2 separate regions of the Homo sapiens genome follow, and region 2 is linked to region 1. The links are contacts of gene promoters, found by promoter capture Hi-C in human tissues and cell types (Jung and others, 2019). All regions are on one chromosome and are shown on one strand. The core of a region is centred on a gene start or on the middle of the fragment in contact, and the rest is flanking DNA. Distances in the headings are between cores, read along the strand shown. Region 1 holds the start of DNAJB13 (DnaJ heat shock protein family (Hsp40) member B13). Region 2 overlaps C2CD3 (C2 domain containing 3 centriole elongation regulator).

The links. The method cuts DNA at HindIII sites, captures the fragments that hold promoters and counts their contacts. A contact is called where the count stands out against the background at its distance.
Region 2: a fragment that was not itself captured here is called in contact with the fragment with the promoter of DNAJB13 in region 1 in 1 of the 25 tissues and cell types used here (aorta).

What each region holds. Positions count from the first base shown.
Region 1 is chr11:73,949,287-73,953,048 of GRCh38, reverse strand. DNAJB13 (DnaJ heat shock protein family (Hsp40) member B13) reads right to left here and starts at 2,023. Exons shown (of 8, transcript NM_153614.4): 1 at 1,912-2,023. The coding sequence starts at 1,979. The HindIII fragment of the contact is 16,389 bases long and covers 1-3,762 here.
Region 2 is chr11:74,113,217-74,116,978 of GRCh38, reverse strand. It overlaps C2CD3 (C2 domain containing 3 centriole elongation regulator), which reads left to right. Exons shown (of 33, transcript NM_001286577.2): 10 at 2,386-2,595; 11 at 3,087-3,199. Among named protein-coding and RNA genes, the nearest start is that of C2CD3, 56 kb to the left of the region's middle. The HindIII fragment of the contact is 4,899 bases long and covers 1-3,762 here.

The DNA.
Region 1 (3,762 bases), core at 774-3,273:
TCCCTATGATGCCCAGGCTGCCCTCTCAAACTCCTGGGCCCAAGGGATCCTCCTGCTTTGGCCTCCTAAAGTGCTCAGATTACAGGCATGAAACACCATGCCAGGCCTTAATCACTCTTTATATGACATGGTTTCACATGCAAATGATTGCTGGACACATGCATTATCTCATCTAATCCTATTTCAATCTCACAGCAACCTTTATTATGATGATGATTTTTAGACATGGGAAAACTTCGGCTCAAAGAGGTTAAGTAATTTGCCCAGGTCACGCAGCTAGCAGGTAAGTGAATCTGGATTCTGATCCAGCCCTTTCCAGTGCTTAAGCTGTGCTTATCTTTCTGCACGCCCACTGCCCTTCCTCCTGATTACCTTTCCCTGGATGGGTCCTTCTGGTCAATGAGATGCTCCGAAGAGTGGGTGACATCATACACTGTCCTGAATTGTTCTCAGATCCTTTCATGAGTTTGTGTCTTTTTTCTCCAACACCGCAGACTCTCCACTTATGCCACTGATCCCCTACAGGACCTGGCCCAGGAATAGGCCCATGACTGGCAACTCTGGGAGGCCTGATATCTGAACACTGGCTCCACCATTTACTAGTGCACTTGTGGGATAATAATGGCACTTAATTCTCAGGGCTGTTGTGAGGGTTAAACAGTGATGGAAAGTTCTCAGAACAGCACCTACACACTCAAAACATACACCTATTGTCACTGCCTAACTTAATTGATTGAGTTATCCTGGACTCCTCTTTTCTTCACCCTCCAGTGATCCACTTAATTACCAAGTCCATTCCCTCCCCTTTCTCTGGCCTCATCTTTTGCCTTGATTACCACGAACAGCCTCCTAAAGGGTCTCTCTCCTTCCAAGATAACTTCCACAGCCCCCCATACTTCCTCTTCTGTAACACTCATCACAGTTGTGGTGACTTATTCAACATCTATTCAGCAACAAAATCTAGCTGCATGAGGTAAGGGAGTGTCGATGTCGGATTCCGACATTTATCTCCAGCTGCTACCACTGCAGCAGGAGTGAAGTACCCTCTCAACCCTTGTGGTAGACGCTCAATAAATATTTGTTAAAAAAAAAAACATGTTTTTGGCCAGGTGCGGTGACTCACACCTATAATCCCAGCACTTGGGAAGGCTGAGGCGGGTGGATCACCAGAGGTCGGGAATTTGAGACCAGCCTGACCAAAAAGGAGAAACCCCATCTCTACTAAAAATACAAAATTAGCTGGGCATGGTGGTGCATGCCTGTAATCCCAGCTACTTGGGAAGCTGAGGCAGAAGAATCGCTTGAACCCAGGAGGTGGAGGTTGCGGTGAGCCGAGATCACGCCATTGCACTCCAGCCTGGGCAACAAGACCAAGACTCCGTCTCAAAACAAAAAACAAAAACATGTTTTCAGAAAAATGTACTGACTCCTGTTGTAGGCTTTCTTAGGAACGAGCCAGAACGTCCTTAAGATCCGATGGAAGTATTCAGGAATGTAGTTTAGTCAATGCTGAAAACCTCCATCATGGCCAGAATTGAATTTAAAACATCCATCTGGCCTGGCCACTCCCTTGTTCACAAGCCTCTGGTTCTCCATAATATTCAAGATAAAGTTCAAATGGCTCCTTTGTCCCCACTTCATTGCTGGGAAAAGCAAGGCACCCAGGAGAGGATATAGGGCATGGAGCATAAAGGGAGATGGGTTGGGAGCAGATTGAGGAACTAAAGAGTTCAAATTTCCAACCTGGGCCCTGACCCAGACCAAAGCCAGGATACAGGTATGCAAGAAGTGAAAGGAGGAACAAGGTTTACCTTGTCTGCGCTAAGCTGTGCAGGAAAGCTCGTTTTGGAAGAGAAGAGGGCAGGGCCTGCCCCAGCACACCCCTAAGGCCTGGCTCCCACCCCAACTTACGCCTGCTTGATCTGGGCATCCTCTGAATTGCGAGTGATCCCGAGCACAGAGTAATAATCCTGGCCCATGGCTGGCTAGCTGGCAGTCAGGCCCTGGATAGTCCTCAGACTCTAGCAAGGCTGTTAGTTGGCTTCCTTGGTTGCTCCTGACAACCGCACAGGTGCACTCTGGGAGTTGTAGTCCCACTTCCCTAAACAAATTTCAGCTCTGCCACAGAGAGGAGTCAGTGAAAGGACTGGGGGAGAGCTGGGGCTGATTCTGCGACCCTGTGAAAGGTCACTCAACTCGGAAATTGAAGACTCACAGGGCTCTGTTTTATTTTGTTTTTGTTTTTAAAGAGAGCAGTAATTAGTTTTAATAAAAAGGTTTTAGAAGAAATGCATTTGGCTAATTTTTTAAAAATACATTTATTTTAGAACAGTTTTAGAGTTTAGAAAAGTTGAGAAGACAGTACAGAGAGTTCCCATATACCTCACATCCACATTCTCCTATTTTATTATTATTATTATCATTATCATGTTTTTGAGACAGGGTCTTCACTCTGTCACCCAGGCTGGTGGGCAGTGGCAGGATCACACCTCACTGCAGTCTCAACCTCCCAGGCTCAAGGGATTCTTCCACCTCAGCCTTCCAAGTAGCTGAGACACAGGCGTGCACTACCATGCCTGGCTAATTTTTGTATGTTTTGTAGAGATGGGGTTTCACCATGTTGCCCAGACTGGTCTTGAACTCTTGGGCTCGGCTTGGCCTCCCAAAGTGCTGGGATTACAGGTGTGAGCCACTGCATTCACATTCCCCTATTATTAACATCTTACATTAGTATGGTACATTTGTCACAAATAATGACCAATATTGATACATTATTATTAACTAAAATCCACATTTTATTCAGATTTACTAGTTGTTTTAACCTAATATCTTATTTCTGTTCCGGACCCCATCCAGGATGCCACGTTACACTTAGCTGTTGCATCTCCTCTGGTGCCTCCTGACTGTGACAGTTTCTCAGACTTTCCATGTTTTTGATGACCTTGACAGTTTAAGTAATAATGGTCAGGTGTTTTGTAGAATGTCCTGCAATTGGAATTTGTTTGGTGTTTTTCTTTTTGTTTGTTTGTTTTTGTTTTTTGAGATGGAGTCTCACTCCATCGCCCAGGCTGGAGTGCAGTGGCACAATTTCAGCTCACTGCAACCTCTGCCTCCCGGGTTCCAGCGATTCTCCTGCCTCAGCCTCCCAAGTAGCTGAGATTACAGGCATGTGCCACCATGCCCGGCTAATTTTTGTTATTTTTACTAGAGACGGGGTTTCACCATGTTGGCCAGGCTGGTCTCAAACTCCTGACCTCAAGTGATCCACCCACCTCAGCCTCCCAAAGTGTTGGGATTACAGGCGTGAGCCACCGCGCCAGCCCTCCTTCCCCACTTGCTGTATTGCACTCTTTGGAAGGCAGTCACTGTGCGGCCCACCCTTACAGTGAGGGAGTTATGCTCCACCTCTCTGAGTACAGCAGAGCCCTGTTTTCCATGCACATCCCAAATCCAACTGGTCACCAAGCTCAGTCCATTCTGCTTCCTAGACAACCTCTCAAGCCCAGCTCCTCTGCTCTTCCTCCTCATAATCAGGGCCCAGCTCTGGATTCATCTTTCAGCAAGACCACAACAACTTCCTCGCGGGCCTGCCTGCCTTGTCTCTGTTCTGCAAAGCCCACACTCCTCATTACTTCGAGTGAACTCCAAACTGCTTACCATGGCACACAGGCCCTCTGTGATCTGGTGCCTCCCTTTCCACCTGAGCTCTCACCACTGCCCTACACGCACCCACTGCTTGTCAGAATGGACTGCAGTGCCTGC
Region 2 (3,762 bases), core at 374-2,873, 160 kb before region 1:
TACGTGTATATGTGTATATACACATATATACGTGTATATGTGTATATACACGTGTATATGTATATATACATACACGTGTGTATATATACACGTGTGTATATATACATATACACGTGTATATACACATATACACGTGTATATATACACACACGTATATATGTGTGTGTATATATATACGTGTGTGTGTGTATATATATACACACATATATGTATACCACAATTTCTTTATCCATTCATTGATTGATGGGCATTTAGGCTGGTTCCATATTTTTGCAATTGCAAATTGTGCTGCTATAAGCATGCAAGTACAAGTATCTTTTTCATATAGTGACTTCTTTTCCTCTGGGTAGATACCTAGAAGTAGGATTGCTGGGTCAAATGGTAGTTCTACTTTTAGTTCTTTAAGGAATGTCCACACTGTTTTCCATGGTAGTTGTACTAGTTTACATTCCCACCAGCAGTGTAATAGTGTTCCCTTTTCACCACATCCTCACCAACATTCTTTTTTTTTTTAATTTTTTATTATGGCCATTCTTGCAGGAGTAAAGTGGTATCGCATTGTGGTTTTGATTTGCATTTCCCTGATCATTAGTGATGTTGAGCATATTTTCATACGTTTGTTGGCCATTTGTATATCTTCTTTTGAGAATTGTTTATTCATGTCCTTAGACCACTTTTTGATGGGATTGTTTGATTTTTTCTTGCTAATTTGTTTGCATTCCTTATAGATTCTGGATATTAGTCCTTTGTCAGATGTATAGATTGTGAAGATTTTCTCCCATTCTGTGGGTTGTCTGTTTACTCTGCCGACTGTTTCTTTTGCTGTGCAGAAGCTTTTTAGTTTAATTAAGTCCCATCTATTTATCTTTGTTTTTGTTGCATTTGCTTTTGGGTTCTTGGATATGAAGTCTTTGTCTAAACCATGTCTAGAAGGGTTGTTCCATTGTTATCTTCTAGAATTTTTATGATTTGAGGTCTTAGATTTAAGTCCTTGATCCATCTTGAGTCGATAGTTTTATAAGGTGAGAGATGAACATCCAGTTTCATTCTTCTACATGTGGCTTGCCAATTGTCCCAGCACCATTTGTTGAATAGGGTGTCCTTTCACCACTTTATGTTTTTGTTTGCTTTGTTGAAGATCAGTTGGCTATAAGTATTTGGCTTTATTTCTGGATTCTCTATTCTGTTCCATTGGTCTATGTGTCTATTTTTATACCAATACCATGCTGTTTTGGTGACTGTGGCCTTATAGTATAGTTTGAAGTCAGGTAATGTGATGCCTCCAGATTTGTTCTTTTTGCTTAATCTTGCTTTGGCTATGTGGGCTCTTTTTTGGTTCCATATGAATTTTAACATTTTTTTTCCTAGTTCTGTGAAGAATGATGAGGGTATTTTGATGGGAATTGCACTGAATTTGTAGATTGCTTTTGGCAGTATGGTCGTTTTCATATTTTTGATTCTACCAAGATAGGTATAATTTAAATGGTTAAGGAAGAAAGCAGAATTCTAGGTTGTATGTGTACTGTGATCACAACTGTGTAGAAAATATGCATAAGGAAAGCAAATGAGAAGGAATACACAAAAGTGACAATAGTAGTTACATTAGAATAGTGGGTAACTGAAATAAGGTCTGTGTCCCTTCTAGAAAAACCTAAATTTGGAGTTTCAGTTTCTGTACTCATATGTATTGTATAATGTATGTGTGTGTATATATGTTGTGTGTGTATAAGTGTGTGTATATATATGTATGTATATATATATGTATGTATGTGTGTGTGTGTGTGTATATATCTATATAGTATTTTTAAATTTTTTTTTTACCTGGGAGCATAGATTCAAATTACCCTGAATATACACTCTCAAACCTTTAGATTATATTTTTTTTTTACATTTTTTGAGATTTCTTGTACTATAGGACCAGAATTCTGATAATAAAAGCTGTTTCCAATCCTTGATAACTTGTGAGTCAAGATACTTGGCTGGGTGTGGTTGTTCACACCTGTAATCCCAGCACTTTGGGAGGCTGAGGCAGGAGGATTGCTTGAGTCCGGGAGTTCAAGACCAGCCTGGGCAACATAGTAATATCTCATCTCTACAAAAAATACAAAAATTAGCCAAGTGTGATGACCCATGCTTGTGGTCCCAGCTACTTGGGAAGTTGAGGTGGGAGGATCATTTGAGCCCAGGAGGTCAAGGCTGCAGTAAGCCATGATCGTGCCACTGCACTCCAGCCTGGGTGACAGAGCAACACCCTGTGTCAAAAATAAAAATAAAAAAATAAAAACTTGCTGCCCTCCCTTTTTCCTCATCTTGCCTGTGCAAACTAGATTGTTTCATGTGAAGCCTGTAGCAGTATGCCTCACTGCTTGTGTGAACTCCTTTCAGAAATTTGGTTGAACAACAGATGCTCTCAGAAACTCCAGAAGATGCCCAAACGATGACACTAAGTGTGGATAGACTGGCCCTTTTGGGTAGAACACATTCAGTCAGAATCATCATCGAAACCATGGGAGTTCCTCCAGATAGTCCTCAGATGACCCCTGGCAAAAAAAGCTATGCTGGTCCACCACCTAAGGTGACTACAGCAAAAAAGCGGTATGTCTCTAACATGAGAAAGCTAAATTTGACATTTTTGGAAAGTGTGTCTGATGGTAATAATCAACAATTGCATAATACTGTGATTTGGGATGTGTTTTCATATGCATCATTTAATCTACAGAAATATATTGAATCCCTGCTATATCCCAAGAACTGTGTAAGTAAGTATGGGACTAAAGAAAATTAAGATACAGACTCTGTTCTTACATATCTTACAGTTAGCAGGAGAGAGAAACATTTAAATGGCTATCTATAACATAAAGCTTTAGGGCCCAAAATAGATGTTTTGTATTAAAATTGCTGTGGGAACACAAGAAAGGGAGCCTTTGATTCTCTCAGACAGGGTTGGTGGAAGGCTTTGAAGAAGAGGTAGGGCCTCTGAGTACTAGAGGTCCTGAAAGTAAGATTTCAAATATATGTTGGATTTATCAGACGGAAATTAGGTTTATTGTTTGGTTAGTTTTTAATCACTTTTTTTTTCTTTTTAGCACTTTCTTTGTAGAATATCACTTTCCTGTGGGCTTTTCGGAAAGCGGATTGGGAAAGACAGCTTTGATCACTGAGGTTGTTCGACTCGCCTCCAGTAAAATTACAGATGGAAGTAAGAGACACACTGGTTTTCTGCACCTTAGACATTCTGACTTTGGAAGAATTTTTGAATTCCTAATTACTCATTTGACTTTTTTTTTTTTTTTTTTTTTGACATGGAGTCTCACTCTTTCGCCCAGGCTGGAGTGTGGTGGCGCAATCTCTGCTCACTGCAGCCTCCACCTCCCGGGTTCAAGTGATTCTCCCATCTCAGCCTCCTGAGTAGCTGGGATTACAGGCGTATGCCACCACACCCAGCTAATTTTTGTATTTTTTAGTAGAGACAGGGTTTCACCATGTTGGCCAGGGTGGTCTCAAACCCCTGACCTTAAGTGATCCGCCTGCCTCGGCCTCCCAAAGTGCTGGGATTACAGGCATAAGCCATCACGCCCAGCCAATATTTTCAAGGCTGTGCAACCATCACCACAATCTAATTTTAGAACATTTTCATCCCCCCTAAAAGAAACCCCATACTTACTAGCATTCGCTTCGCATTTCCCTCTTCCCCCAGCCCTAAGCAACTGCTAATCTTTCTTTCCCTATCAATTTGTCCATTCTGGATGTCTCATATAAATG